Regions from separate parts of the Homo sapiens genome. Here regions 2, 3 and 4 are each linked to region 1. The links are contacts of gene promoters, found by promoter capture Hi-C in blood cells and fetal thymus (Javierre and others, 2016). All regions are on one chromosome and are shown on one strand. Each heading gives the region's core, a stretch centred on a gene start or on the middle of the fragment in contact. The rest is flanking DNA. Distances are from core to core; before and after follow the strand shown.

Region 1 (2,776 bases), core at 277-2,776:
CTACTAAAAATACAAAAATTAGCTGGGTGTGGTGGTCAATGCCTGTATTCCCAGCTACTCAGGAGGCTGAGGCAGGAGAATCGCTTGGACCTGGGAGGCGGAGGTTACAGTGAGCCAACATCGCACCATTGCACTCCAGCCTGGGTGACAGAGCAAGACTCCCTCTCAAAAAAAAAAAAAAAAAAAAAAAAATAGCCAGAGTGGTGATGCGGGCCTGTAGTCCCAGCTACTCAGGAGGCTGAGGCAGAAAGAACACTTGAGCCTAGGAGGTTTGAGGCTTCAATGAGCCATGATCACACCACTGCACTCCAGCCTGGGCAATAGAGAAAGACCCTGTCTCTACAAACAAATTTTAAAAAATTAGCTGGAGTGGTGGTGTGCACCTGTAGTCCCAGCTATTCAGGAGGCTGAGGCAGGAGGATCACCTGAGCCCAGGAAGTTGAGGCTGCAATGAACCAAGATCATGCCACTGCCCTCCAGCCTGGGCAACAGAGCAAGATTCCATCTCAAAAGAAAGAAAGATAAATCAAGATAGATAGAGGGAGGGAGAGAGAGAGACATGGAGAAGGAAAGAAGAGATGGGAGAGAGGGCAAGAAAAAGAGGGAGAAGAAAGCTCATGCAGTCCTTGCCAAAGGGCGCCCACTTTGGGCTCACACTGCACCCACACTGGGGGCCGGTGGAATTGGACTCTGCCTTTTACTCCCGCCCACACCCTGTGCACTCCCACGTAAGACACTGTCACACACACGCTCTCCACATGCTTATTACAGATCGCAGTTCACTCTAACCTTCCCCACTCTCACACCCACGTACACACATGCATATCTTCCCTCTCTCCCACACTCTCCCAGCCTGTCACACTCACTCTTGCATCCTCCCCAGCAGAGATCCCTGACATCATTTAGGCACTGATGTCTACTAAAAAAGGAAGGGAGGCCAGGTGCGGTGGCTCATGTCTGTAATCCCAGCATTTTGGGAGGCTGAGGCAGATGGATCACCTGAGGTCAGGAGTTCGAGACCAGCGTGGCCAACATGATGAAACCCCGTCTCTAGTAAAAATACAAAAATTAGCCAGGCATGGTGCTATATACCTGTAGCACCAGCTACTTGGGAGACAGAGGTGGGAGAATTACTTGAACCTGGGAGGTTCAAGCCATGGGAGGTGGAAGTTGCAGTGAGCCGAGATGCCACTGCACTCCAGCCTGAGCAACAGAGCAAGACTATCTCAAGAAAAGAAAGAAAGAAAGAAAGAGACTTGCCAAGGTCATGTATCAGGGCAAGGAAGAGCTGGGGGCCCAGCTGGCTGCTCCCCTGCTGAGCTGGGAGACCACCTTGATCTGACTTCTCCCATCTTCCCAGCCTAAGCCAGGCCCTGGGGTCACGGAGGCTGGGGAGGCACCGAGGAACGCGCCTGGCATGTGCTGACAGGGGATTTTATGCTCCAGCTGGGCCAGCTGGGAGGAGCCTGCTGGGCAGAGGCCAGAGCTGGGGGCTCTGGAAGGTACCTGGGGGAGGTTGCACTGTGAGAATGAGCTCAAGCTGGGTCAGAGAGCAGGGCTGACTCTGCCAGTGCCTGCATCAGCCTCATCGCTCTCCTAGGCTCCTGGCCTGCTGGACTCTGGGCTGCAGGTCCTTCTTGAAAGGCTGTGAGTAGTGAGACAAGGAGCAGGAGTGAGGGGTGGCAGGAGAGAAGATAGAGATTGAGAGAGAGAGAGAGAGAGAGACAGAGAGAGAGGAAGAGACAGAGACAAAAGGAGAGAGAACGGCTTAGACAAGGAGAGAAAGATGGAAAGATAAAGAGACTGGGCGCAGTGGCTCACGCCTGTAATCCCAACACTTGGGGAGGCCAAGGTGGGAGGATGGCTTGAAGGAAAGAGTCTGAGATCAACCTGGCCAACATAGTGAGACCCCGTCTCTAAAAAAAAAAAAAAGAAAAAAAAAAGAAAAAAGAAAAAAAAGTTTTTTTAAAGAGACAGAGAAAGAGACTCAGAGATTGAGACTGAGAGCAAGACAGAGAGAGATACTCACAGGGAAGAGGGGAAGAGGAAAACGAGAAAGGGAGGAGAGTAACGGAAAGAGATAAAAAAGAAAAGCAGGTGGCAGAGACACACAGAGAGGGACCCAGAGAAAGCCAGACAGACGCAGGTGGCTGGCAGCGGGCGCTGTGGGGGTCACAGTAGGGGGACCTGTGATGGCCCTGGGGACGACGCTCAGGGCTTCTCTCCTGCTCCTGGGGCTGCTGACTGAAGGTGAGTGGGATCCCAGCCTTGTACCCAGCGCCAAGTGGCCCCCATTTCCCACTTACCTTCCCTAGACAAACCCTCTGCCCTTTCCTTGCACCGCGCTGTGTCCTCAGGCCTGGCGCAGTTGGCGATTCCTGCCTCCGTTCCCCGGGGCTTCTGGGCCCTGCCTGAAAACCTGACGGTGGTGGAGGGGGCCTCAGTGGAGCTGCGTTGTGGGGTCAGCACCCCTGGCAGTGCGGTGCAATGGGCCAAAGATGGGCTGCTCCTGGGCCCCGACCCCAGGATCCCAGGCTTCCCGAGGTACCGCCTGGAAGGGGACCCTGCTAGAGGTAAGGGATCAGAGCCTGAGACCCTCAGCCACCAGCGGAAGCTGCGGCCCTGACTTCCGGCTCCCCCTGCAGGTGAATTCCACCTGCACATCGAGGCCTGTGACCTCAGCGATGACGCGGAGTATGAGTGCCAGGTCGGCCGCTCTGAGATGGGGCCCGAGCTCGTGTCTCCCAGAGTGATCCTCTCCATCCTGGGTATGGGT
Region 2 (2,776 bases), core at 126-2,625, 240 kb after region 1:
TACAAGTCATTTTTCGGATGAAAGAGAATCTTGTAGCATATGCTTCTCACCTGTGGACTGTCCTGGTGGCCATACCTAGGAAAACGAGGCCAGAGTCAGCGGATGAGTGGGGCTTCTAGGGGGGAGGGCAATAGGTGTGATGCTGTGGTGGGGACAGGGCTAAATGGGAGTGGGGAAGACAGGAGGGGATAGCTTTAAGAAGCAGTTACCAGAGTAGGTTTCCCCGGATCTTCTTGACAGTCCTACAGTGCAGAGGCAGAAAGAGGAGTTACTATGGGCCTCACCTGTGCCCCCTCCCCTGCTCTAGCCCAGCTTACCTCTGACTGTGCACATGCTGCAAGATGTAGGCCCAGATGTCAGCCCCCTGGCCCAGACACAGCCTGTGGGGACAGTGTGTAAGCATATGCCTGGGGCAGCACACAGGGTGTGGGATCCTCATTCCTAGGGTGATGGTGGTAGGGAGTTTTTACTAGGGAGTTCTCACTTCTTGAGGAGGGAAGGCCCAAACTTTTTTTTGCCTTTTTTTTTTTTTTTTTTTTAAGAGACAGTCTCGCTCTGTCGCAGTGGTACGATCATAGCTCCTTGCAGCCTCAACCTCCTGGGCTCATGCGATCCTCCCACCTCAGCCTCCAGAGTAGCTAGGACTACAGGCAGGCACCACTACACCCGGCTAATTGGTAAAACATTTTTTTTGTAGGGACTGGATGTTTGCACTAAGTGTGGTGTTATTCTCATTCCCTGGGAAGGCGGGTGGTGGGGGAGCGCGGGAGAGGCGGGTGCTCCCTTTCTCCTGGGAGTGGGTTATCCCAGTCACATCCAGAGGTGGAGGTGGGGGATGTACTGCCAGGAAGTGCCATCTCATGACCAGACGTGGGGCATCACTCCTACAGCTTCAATCCCCGATGGGGTGGCCACGGCTAACTCCTGAGTGTCCTTCTTGGTTAGGTTAAGGGAGGGAGGGGAGGTGCTGCGGGGACAGCCTCACTCTGGAGATCCTATTTCCATAAGGAGCGAGGTCTTAGCTAACTCGTGGAGGATCCTCACCAGTGCTAGGGACCTCACTCTGGGGAGCCTCCCAGGGTAGGGAGCCCTCAGTAAGTCGGGTCACTCTCGATGGGGAATTGGGGGGAGTCGAGTCCTCAATGAGGGGTGGAGTTCTCACTCCCGGAGACTCAATCTCCAGGGTGGGGTGTCCTCACTCCAGGAGCGGTCCTCACCTGCGCAGCGTCGATTCCGGGGCCCGGGCCGCCACGGGCACCCCCATCTCTTCGACCGCCCAGCAACCCAGTTCCCGCGCTTCCTGCGCTAGCTCCATGACAGCGCCGCGGCGGCGACACCGCCTCCCTCAGCCTCTTCAAGTGTGGCGCCCGCCTCTGACGTCACGGGCGCGCCAACAGTGACGTCATCGGTTGCCGGGCAGACAGCGGGCTCGGGCGCTGCATAGTAATCTTAGCGCGGTCAGGCTGGGTCTTGCAGCGCTCACTCTTCCCAGGTAGGTCTCCTTGAGTGGAAATGAAAAGGGCGTGGAGAGACTGCAGCCCCGCCCGCCTTCCCTCGTTCTCCCGCTCACTACCAGCTAACCCGAAAGAGGCAAAACAGTCCTTGATGCTTCCATTTATTTTCTTTTTCTTCTTTTAACTAAACACTTTTATTTTAATAGAGATGGGATCTCACTTGTTGCCCAGGCTAGTCTCAGCTTCTGGGCTCTTGAACTCCTGGGCTCAAGCGATCCTCCCGCCTCGGCCTCCCAAAATGTTGGGATTACAGGCGTGAGCCACCACGCTCACCCCCTTTATTTTCTTGACAAAATGGGACTTGCGTCCTAGGAGGACTGGAACCAGGCAATGAGATCCTGGACTTACTGCTCTTTGATTTCAGAAACAGGTGTCTCATGTCTGAGTGGAGGGTAGGGGCAGAGAGCATGACCCTAACATTTCCCTGGCATGCGTTTTCCCATTCATTCGTGCTTACCATTCCATAAACTCAGGGAGCTGACCCTGTGCTGGGTGATGCTGGGGACACCATGGTGACCACAACAGCCCTGGTCCCTATTGTACGGAGCTCACAGTTGAGTGGGGAGACAGACGCACCACCAGGTAGGGGTGGTAAAAATAAGCAGCAGGGGTGGGTCAATTTGGGACACAGCAGGTGTGAGAGGTCTGCGCTAGACCAGCAGTCCCCAACCTTTTGAGCATCAGGGACTGGTTTCATGGAAGACAATTTTTCCACAGTCTGGGGGATGGAGGGTGGGAGCAGTGGATGGTTTCGGGATGAAACTGTTCCACTTCAGGTCGTGAGGCATTATATTCTCTGTCTCTCTCTCTCTTTTTTTTTTTCTTCCCTGTTTTTTTTTTTGAGGTGAAGTCTCCCTCTTTCACCCAGGCTGGAGTGCAGTGGCCCGATCTCGGCTCAGCGCAATCTTTGCCTCCGGGGTTCAAGCGATTCTACTGCCTCAGCCTCCTGAGTAGCTGGGATTACAGGCGCCCGCTACCATGCCCAGCTAATTTTTGTATTTTTAGTAGAGACGGGGTTTCACCATGTTGGCCAGGCTGGTCTTGAACTCCTGACCTTAAGTGATCAGCCCATCTCAGCCTCCCAAAGTGCTAGCATTACAGGTGTGAGCCACCATGCCCCGCCTAAGCATTAGATTCTCATAAGGAGTGCGCAATCTAGATCCTTCGTATGCACAGTTCACAATAGGGTTTGCGCTCCTGTAAGAATCTAATGCCGCTCCTGATCTGGCAGGAGGTGGAGCTCAGGCAGTGATGCTCACCCA
Region 3 (2,776 bases), core at 113-2,612, 210 kb after region 1:
ACAGTCTCTGATGGTTCTCATCTCTGCCTCTGAGCCTCCTGCTCACAGCGCCATCTCTACCTCTGCTTGCCACATTCTATGTGTGTGTGTCTCTTCTTGTTCTCAGGAAGACTTGTGTGCATTAAAAAAAAAGATAAACATTTAGGGGGTACAAGTGCAGATTCCTTACTGGATATATGTCAGTATATCCAGTATACTGGCCTGGGCCTTTAGTGCACCCGAATGGTGAGCAACGTACCCAACTGGTAACTGTTCAGCTTCCCCCACGCTCCCACCTTTTGGAGTCTGCAGTGCCTGTTACCCCACTCTGCATGTCCACGTGTACCTGCTGTTCTGCTCCCACTTGGAAGTGAGAATCACATGCATTTGGAAGCGTCCTTTCTGGAGCCATCCTCTCTTCCCATCTCCTCCCGTGACCCTATGCTTGCTGTCAGTACAAGGGGGGTCAGGGGTAGAAAAGACTAGTGATGGGGGGAAGGGGCTTTGAGGATCCTGGGGCTGGGTGGTCTGGCCCAGGTGGCAGGGGGCTAAAGGGCACTTCCTGCCAGGGAGGCTCTCACCCTCTGACCAGACTGGAAAATGTGACGTCAGAGAGGGGGCAGTAAGGCGGGGAAGACAGGAACAGGAGAAATTCGACACCTCTCCTGGGGGACCTCGGTCCCTGAGAGGCCTTGGTATTGTCCATCCCCCGACTTATGCCCCACAAAGTCCTGCCCAACCTGCTCCCTCCTAATGGAGGGTTCCGATGGCTGTGTCCCTGGGAGACCCTCCACTCCTCCCCATACTCAAACCTGCCATCTCCCTCCTCTGGCCCAGTCCCTGCCCCAGCCTTCTAGACTTCCAGCCACAGTGGTGGTCGCAGGGCGTTTTTTTTTTTTTTTTTTTGAGACAGAATCTCACTCTGTCACTAAGGCTGGAGTGCAGTGGCGCGATCTCAGCTCACTGCAACCTCCTTTTACCAGGTTCAAGCGATTCTCCTGCCTCAGCCCTCCCAAGTAGCTGGGACTACATGTGCCCGCCACCACGCCCAACTAATTTTTGTATTTTTCAGTAGGCACAGGGTTTCACTATGTTGGCCAGGCTGGTCTCGAACTCGTGACCTCAAGTGATCTGCCTGCCTCCCAAAGTGCTGGGATTACAGGCGTGCGCCACCGCACCCAGCCGGTCACAGGGCCCTTTCTACAGCGCACATCTGTGCTGCCCAGGACCTTGCTGCTGCTTGAATTTTCTCAGCTTTTTGGGGCTTGCTGCTGCCTTCTGCGTAAAGCTTAAGCCCTCAGCCTGGCATTCAAGGCCCTGCACAGACACCTCTTCAGACAGGCAGAGGCCAGCTTGGAGCTGGGAAGAGAGGGGAACAGACCCCAAGTCTCTGTTCTCTCTATCTGTGGGTCTCTCCTCCTTTTTCATTTCCCAGCTCCAAGGGAGAGAACAGAGACCAACAGGGATATAGAAGCTTAGAGACAAGAAATGGAGGGGTACCCACAGAGACAGAGATAGAGGTGCCCACCGAGACTTAGAGCATGGTGAGCTGGCTGGGCATGGCAGACTGGAGAAGCTGGAAAGCCCCAGAGGAGACTTGGGGGTGGACGGTTCCTTCAGGAAGGGCCCCCTCACCCACAGGTCAGCGCCCCCATCCTGCCCTGACCACTCTGGGCTCTTATCGTCAGGGCACCGGGCCTATTTTCTGCACTGGACCTTGAGCTCTAACGGTGCAGGGCCCAGGACTTTTAGTCACCATTGTGTCCTCAAGCACTGTTCAGACCCTTGGTGAGAGTCTGCTGGATGGAAGAGGGCCTAGAAGCCTGTGAGCTCCAGAAGGGAAGGGCCTAGATCTCCTACCTTGGTGCTGAGAACACAGGAAGTAGCCAGGACACGGGGATGGGCCTCAGCTTGGCTTCACCCTTGCCATTGGCCCCCCTTTCTCCTCTGGAATAAGCAGCACTCAGCATGTGTGGAAGAGGTTTGAAGAGGGAATGGGTGCGCAGGAAGGGCTCAGAAGCCCCCGCCTGGGTGTTTGCCTGGGTAAACTCTCAAGGCTCCCCGCCATTTCCAGCTGTGGGGAAGCCAAGCCCTGCTCCCCACAGCGTGCTTCCATGCCCAGCCAGGGGTGGAAATGAACGTAAATTTATTGAAACTGGTTTTGGGGCAGGGGATGGGTGGACAGCTGGGGGTTTTCCAAAGAGAACTGAGGGAGGAGCCAGCGCCCGGCCAGGTGGGAGCGGGTGCCTGGCCACAGACCCTATCTCAGGCCCAGCTTCTTCTTTTCCTTCTGCTTCTTGCGGACCACGTCCAGATTCCGGTCCTTCCACATGCTCTTGCGAAGCTTGATGGGGCGCGAGCCCACATACTTCCCTGTGGAGACAGAGGGTTCAAGGCAGGCTCGGGTCAGGCTTAGGCCAGCGCCTGCCGCGCCTGCAGTTCCCAGGGGAGGCCGCACCCACCATTCATCTCACGCATGGCGCGCACGTAGTCGCTGGGGTCCTTGAAGCTGACGAAGCCGTAGCCCTTGGTCTTGCCTGTGCGCTTGTCACGGATCACCTTGGCCTTAAGGAAGGATGGGAAGCGGCTGAAGGCGCGTGCCAAGATGTCATCGTTCACCTCATTGCCCAGATCCCCACAGAAGATCCGGAAGTCATCTGGGGATGGGGAAGAGATGACATCAGAGGATGCAGAGGCCTTGCCCAGTGTCTACCTTGTCTGAACGATCCCACCTTTTCGGAGGTATCTAGTCTCTGCCTAGGGACCTCTTAGTAATAATGGTCAACACCTACTGACC
Region 4 (2,776 bases), core at 82-2,581, 180 kb before region 1:
GGCCATGGCTGAGAGCCTTGGCTTCTACCTGGAGTGAGGTGCAGCAGGCAGACCCCTCTGAGGGAAAGAGGGCTCCAAAGTGACAGGTGTTCATGGGTCCCTGTGGCTGCATGTTGGAGGAGGACGGGGACAGCAGGTAAGAGGCTGCTGCCGTAGTGCTGGTGGCAGAAGAAGAAGGATGGACCAAGATGAGGGCCCAGGGTAGCGGTGGGGAGAGTGAGATCCTGGAAATCTTTTGGAGATGGAGCTACTGGACCTGTGCATTAGAAGGATGAGGTGTTCAAGGCTGTCACCCAGCCCCATCCAGGCTGGGATGATTTGAGGCAGAGCAGGCTACAGCTCCAGGTGGGAAGCCAAGCCATGACAATGGAGCCAGGACCCTGGGCTGGCTTCAGGAGGCCTCCGTGGGGAAGATACAGGTTCTGAGAGAGTTGGAGGGGTCAATCGGCAGATCTGTTTCCCAGACACTGCTACAGGCATGTAGCATGGTGATTAAGAATCAAAGCTGGGCATGGTGACTCGTGCCTGTAATCTCAGCGCTTTGGGTGGCAGGGGCAGGAGGATCCCTTGAGGTCAGGAGTTCAAGACCAGCCTGGGCAACATGGCAAAACCCTGTCTCAAAAAAAATTCTCCAGACATGGTGGCATGCACGTGTGGTCTCGGCTACTCGGGAGGTTGAGGTGGGAGGATGGCTTGAGCCCAGAAGTTTGACGCTGCAGTGAGCCAAGATCACAACACTGCACAGTAGCCTGGGTGACAGAGTGAGACCCTGTCTAGGAAATAATAAAAATAAAAATCAGACTTTACAGACTGTCTGGTTTCAAATGTTCGCTCCATCACCTACTCATGTACTTTTGGGCAAGCTGCTTAACCTCTGGGCCCCAGTGTGTGAGCCTCGCATTATGATGGTAAGGATGAGATGATCATGATAGGAGTCTCTAGGAAATCACCCCTCTGAGGCACCCATTATGAATGGTGAGCTTGGAGAAGGGGTCCGGTCTAGGGTCCTAGAGAGAGGGTCCCCTAGAGGGTCCCCATCGTCACCACGCCCCAAGACCACTGCCCTCACCGGCCTGGTTTGCAGGCGTGGGGGAAGGGGATGGAGAAGATCTGTGTCCGCTCTCTCAGCCCTCTCTTTTGCCGTTGTATCTGCTCATCTCGCTCCTTTCCGTAGCCATCTCTTCCTCTCCCAGTGCCCGGAGGCTCTCCCCTTTCAGTCGCCGCCTCTGGCCCCTCCATCAATGCGAGCGCCTCCCGGTCCCTCCTCCTGGTCCCTCCTCCCCCGCCGCCGGTAGGGGGGCAGCAGGCGCATGCGCAGTCGCGCCCCTCCCTCTCCGCCCCCACCCCCTGTCGGCGTCTGGGCCTCGTCCCCTTCTCTCTGTCTCCCTTGCCTCCCCCATCACGTCCCCTGACACCGACACCCCATTGCTCCCACAGTCTCCCCAGTCTCCACTTTGGTCCCCAGCGCTGTCTGCCCGAGGTAAGATGGGGAGGGGGCGGCCCGCGGAGAAGGGGAGGGGCGAAGCATCCTGAATCCCGAGATAAACAAACCCGGGGAGGGGGCAGCCGCGACTGAGGGGCCTGACGCGGGAGGAGAAGAATGGGGGGCTGGGCCTGGGGGAGGTGGCAGGCGCTGGGCGCACACACCGGGGCCCTCTATGGGTAACGGGGGTCCCTATGGTTGCCCAAGATCCAGTTGCGCGGAGGCCACCCGGGGCCCTGGAAGCTCCTAGGGGCTTGGACCCTGGAGCCTGCCGGGCACCCTCTCCAGCTGACCTCTGCCTCCAGGATTTGCCTGAAGGCTGCCCCCAACTCTGCACCCGCCCCCCGAGGGCCACCGAGGACCATGACTAAGACAGATCCTGCCCCGATGGCCCCGCCACCCCGAGGAGAGGAGGAAGAAGAGGAGGAGGAGGATGAACCCGTCCCCGAGGCCCCCAGCCCCACCCAGGAGCGCCGGCAGAAGCCTGTTGTGCACCCCTCGGCACCTGCCCCCCTCCCTAAGGACTACGGTAACCACTGTCCCCACCCTGGAATCTGGCCTGGAGCGTTGGGTGGCCGGGGAGGGTGGGCTGTGCTCTGCTGGTGGTGATGGTGGGAGAATTCTGGGGAATTTGAAGGTGGTCCAGAGGAATCTTGGCTGCAGAGCACCCCTCGTTAATTCATTCATTCACCCATTGGAGAATGGAATTGTAATACTCCTAGTCTTTGACTCATGACACATCATTCCATCATTTAGTCATTCAACAATCATTTTTTGAAAGCGGCTGTGGACCTGGCTTTATGCTAGGGGCTGGGGCCACAGCAGGGGGCAAGAGAGACCCAGTCTTTGCCCTGAGACAACTCACAGGCCTCAGTAACAGCCACACAAATAGGTATTAAACCATAATGTAATTTTTCACATTTAGGTTTATATGCAAGAAAGAAAAATATAATGTAATATAAATATGTAATTACAAGACATTATGAAAATTGTATTTACCATAAACAAGCTGCTGCAAGAGTTTTTTAAGACATTGTTTCCCTGAGGAGGTTACAGTTGAGAAGACTGGAGGGTGAGTTGGGGTTAACTAAGAGAAGGGTCAGGGGAAAGGGCTCCCAGGAGAGGTAACCGCTGGGTAAAGGATCTGAGGTAGGAGGGTATGGAGCTGAGAGGGCGGCCTCTTGGAGAAACTGAAAGTGTCTAATCATTGACCGAGCGATATTTATCGAGTGCTGCTACTCTGTGACAAGCCTTATGCTGGGTGCCGGAGATTTAATCCTAAGTGATCCAGGC

The links. The method cuts DNA at HindIII sites, captures the fragments that hold promoters and counts their contacts. A CHiCAGO score of 5 or more calls a contact.
Region 2: a contact is called between the fragment with the promoter of HAUS5 here and the fragment with the promoter of NPHS1 in region 1, in 3 of 17 cell types (M1 macrophages, M2 macrophages and M0 macrophages). The highest score is 7.1, in M1 macrophages.
Region 3: a fragment that was not itself captured here is called in contact with the fragment with the promoter of NPHS1 in region 1 in 1 of 17 cell types (M0 macrophages); the score reaches 5.8 in M0 macrophages.
Region 4: a contact is called between the fragment with the promoter of CLIP3 here and the fragment with the promoter of NPHS1 in region 1, in 10 of 17 cell types (monocytes, fetal thymus, activated CD4 T cells and 7 more). The highest score is 10.6, in monocytes.

Annotation. Positions count from the first base shown.
Region 1 is chr19:35,851,254-35,854,029 of GRCh38, reverse strand. NPHS1 (NPHS1 adhesion molecule, nephrin) reads left to right here and starts at 1,526. Exons shown (of 29, transcript NM_004646.4): 1 at 1,526-2,250; 2 at 2,358-2,573; 3 at 2,646-2,768. The coding sequence starts at 2,193. It also overlaps a transcript of KIRREL2 not described here. RefSeq lists enhancers at 1,598-2,239, 2,240-2,776. The HindIII fragment of the contact is 3,857 bases long and covers 1-2,776 here.
Region 2 is chr19:35,611,334-35,614,109 of GRCh38, reverse strand. HAUS5 (HAUS augmin like complex subunit 5) reads right to left here and starts at 1,375. Exons shown (of 19, transcript NM_015302.2): 1 at 1,218-1,375; 2 at 318-380; 3 at 210-242; 4 at 51-75. The coding sequence starts at 1,315. It overlaps HAUS5-DT (HAUS5 divergent transcript), which reads left to right and starts at 1,446. Exons shown (of 2, transcript NR_186318.1): 1 at 1,446-1,492. RefSeq lists enhancers at 1,238-1,497, 1,086-1,641. The HindIII fragment of the contact is 7,658 bases long and covers 1-2,776 here.
Region 3 is chr19:35,637,018-35,639,793 of GRCh38, reverse strand. RBM42 (RNA binding motif protein 42) reads right to left here. Exons shown (of 10, transcript NM_024321.5): 9 at 2,442-2,636; 10 at 2,109-2,352. The coding sequence ends at 2,240. Among named protein-coding and RNA genes, the nearest start is that of ETV2, 3.3 kb to the left of the region's middle. The HindIII fragment of the contact is 186 bases long and covers 1,270-1,455 here.
Region 4 is chr19:36,031,428-36,034,203 of GRCh38, reverse strand. It overlaps CLIP3 (CAP-Gly domain containing linker protein 3), which reads left to right and starts at 1,331. Exons shown (of 14, transcript NM_015526.3): 1 at 1,331-1,480; 2 at 1,789-2,012. The coding sequence starts at 1,847. The region is part of intron 3 of LOC101927572 (a long non-coding RNA gene); the gene reads right to left. The HindIII fragment of the contact is 8,202 bases long and covers 1-2,776 here.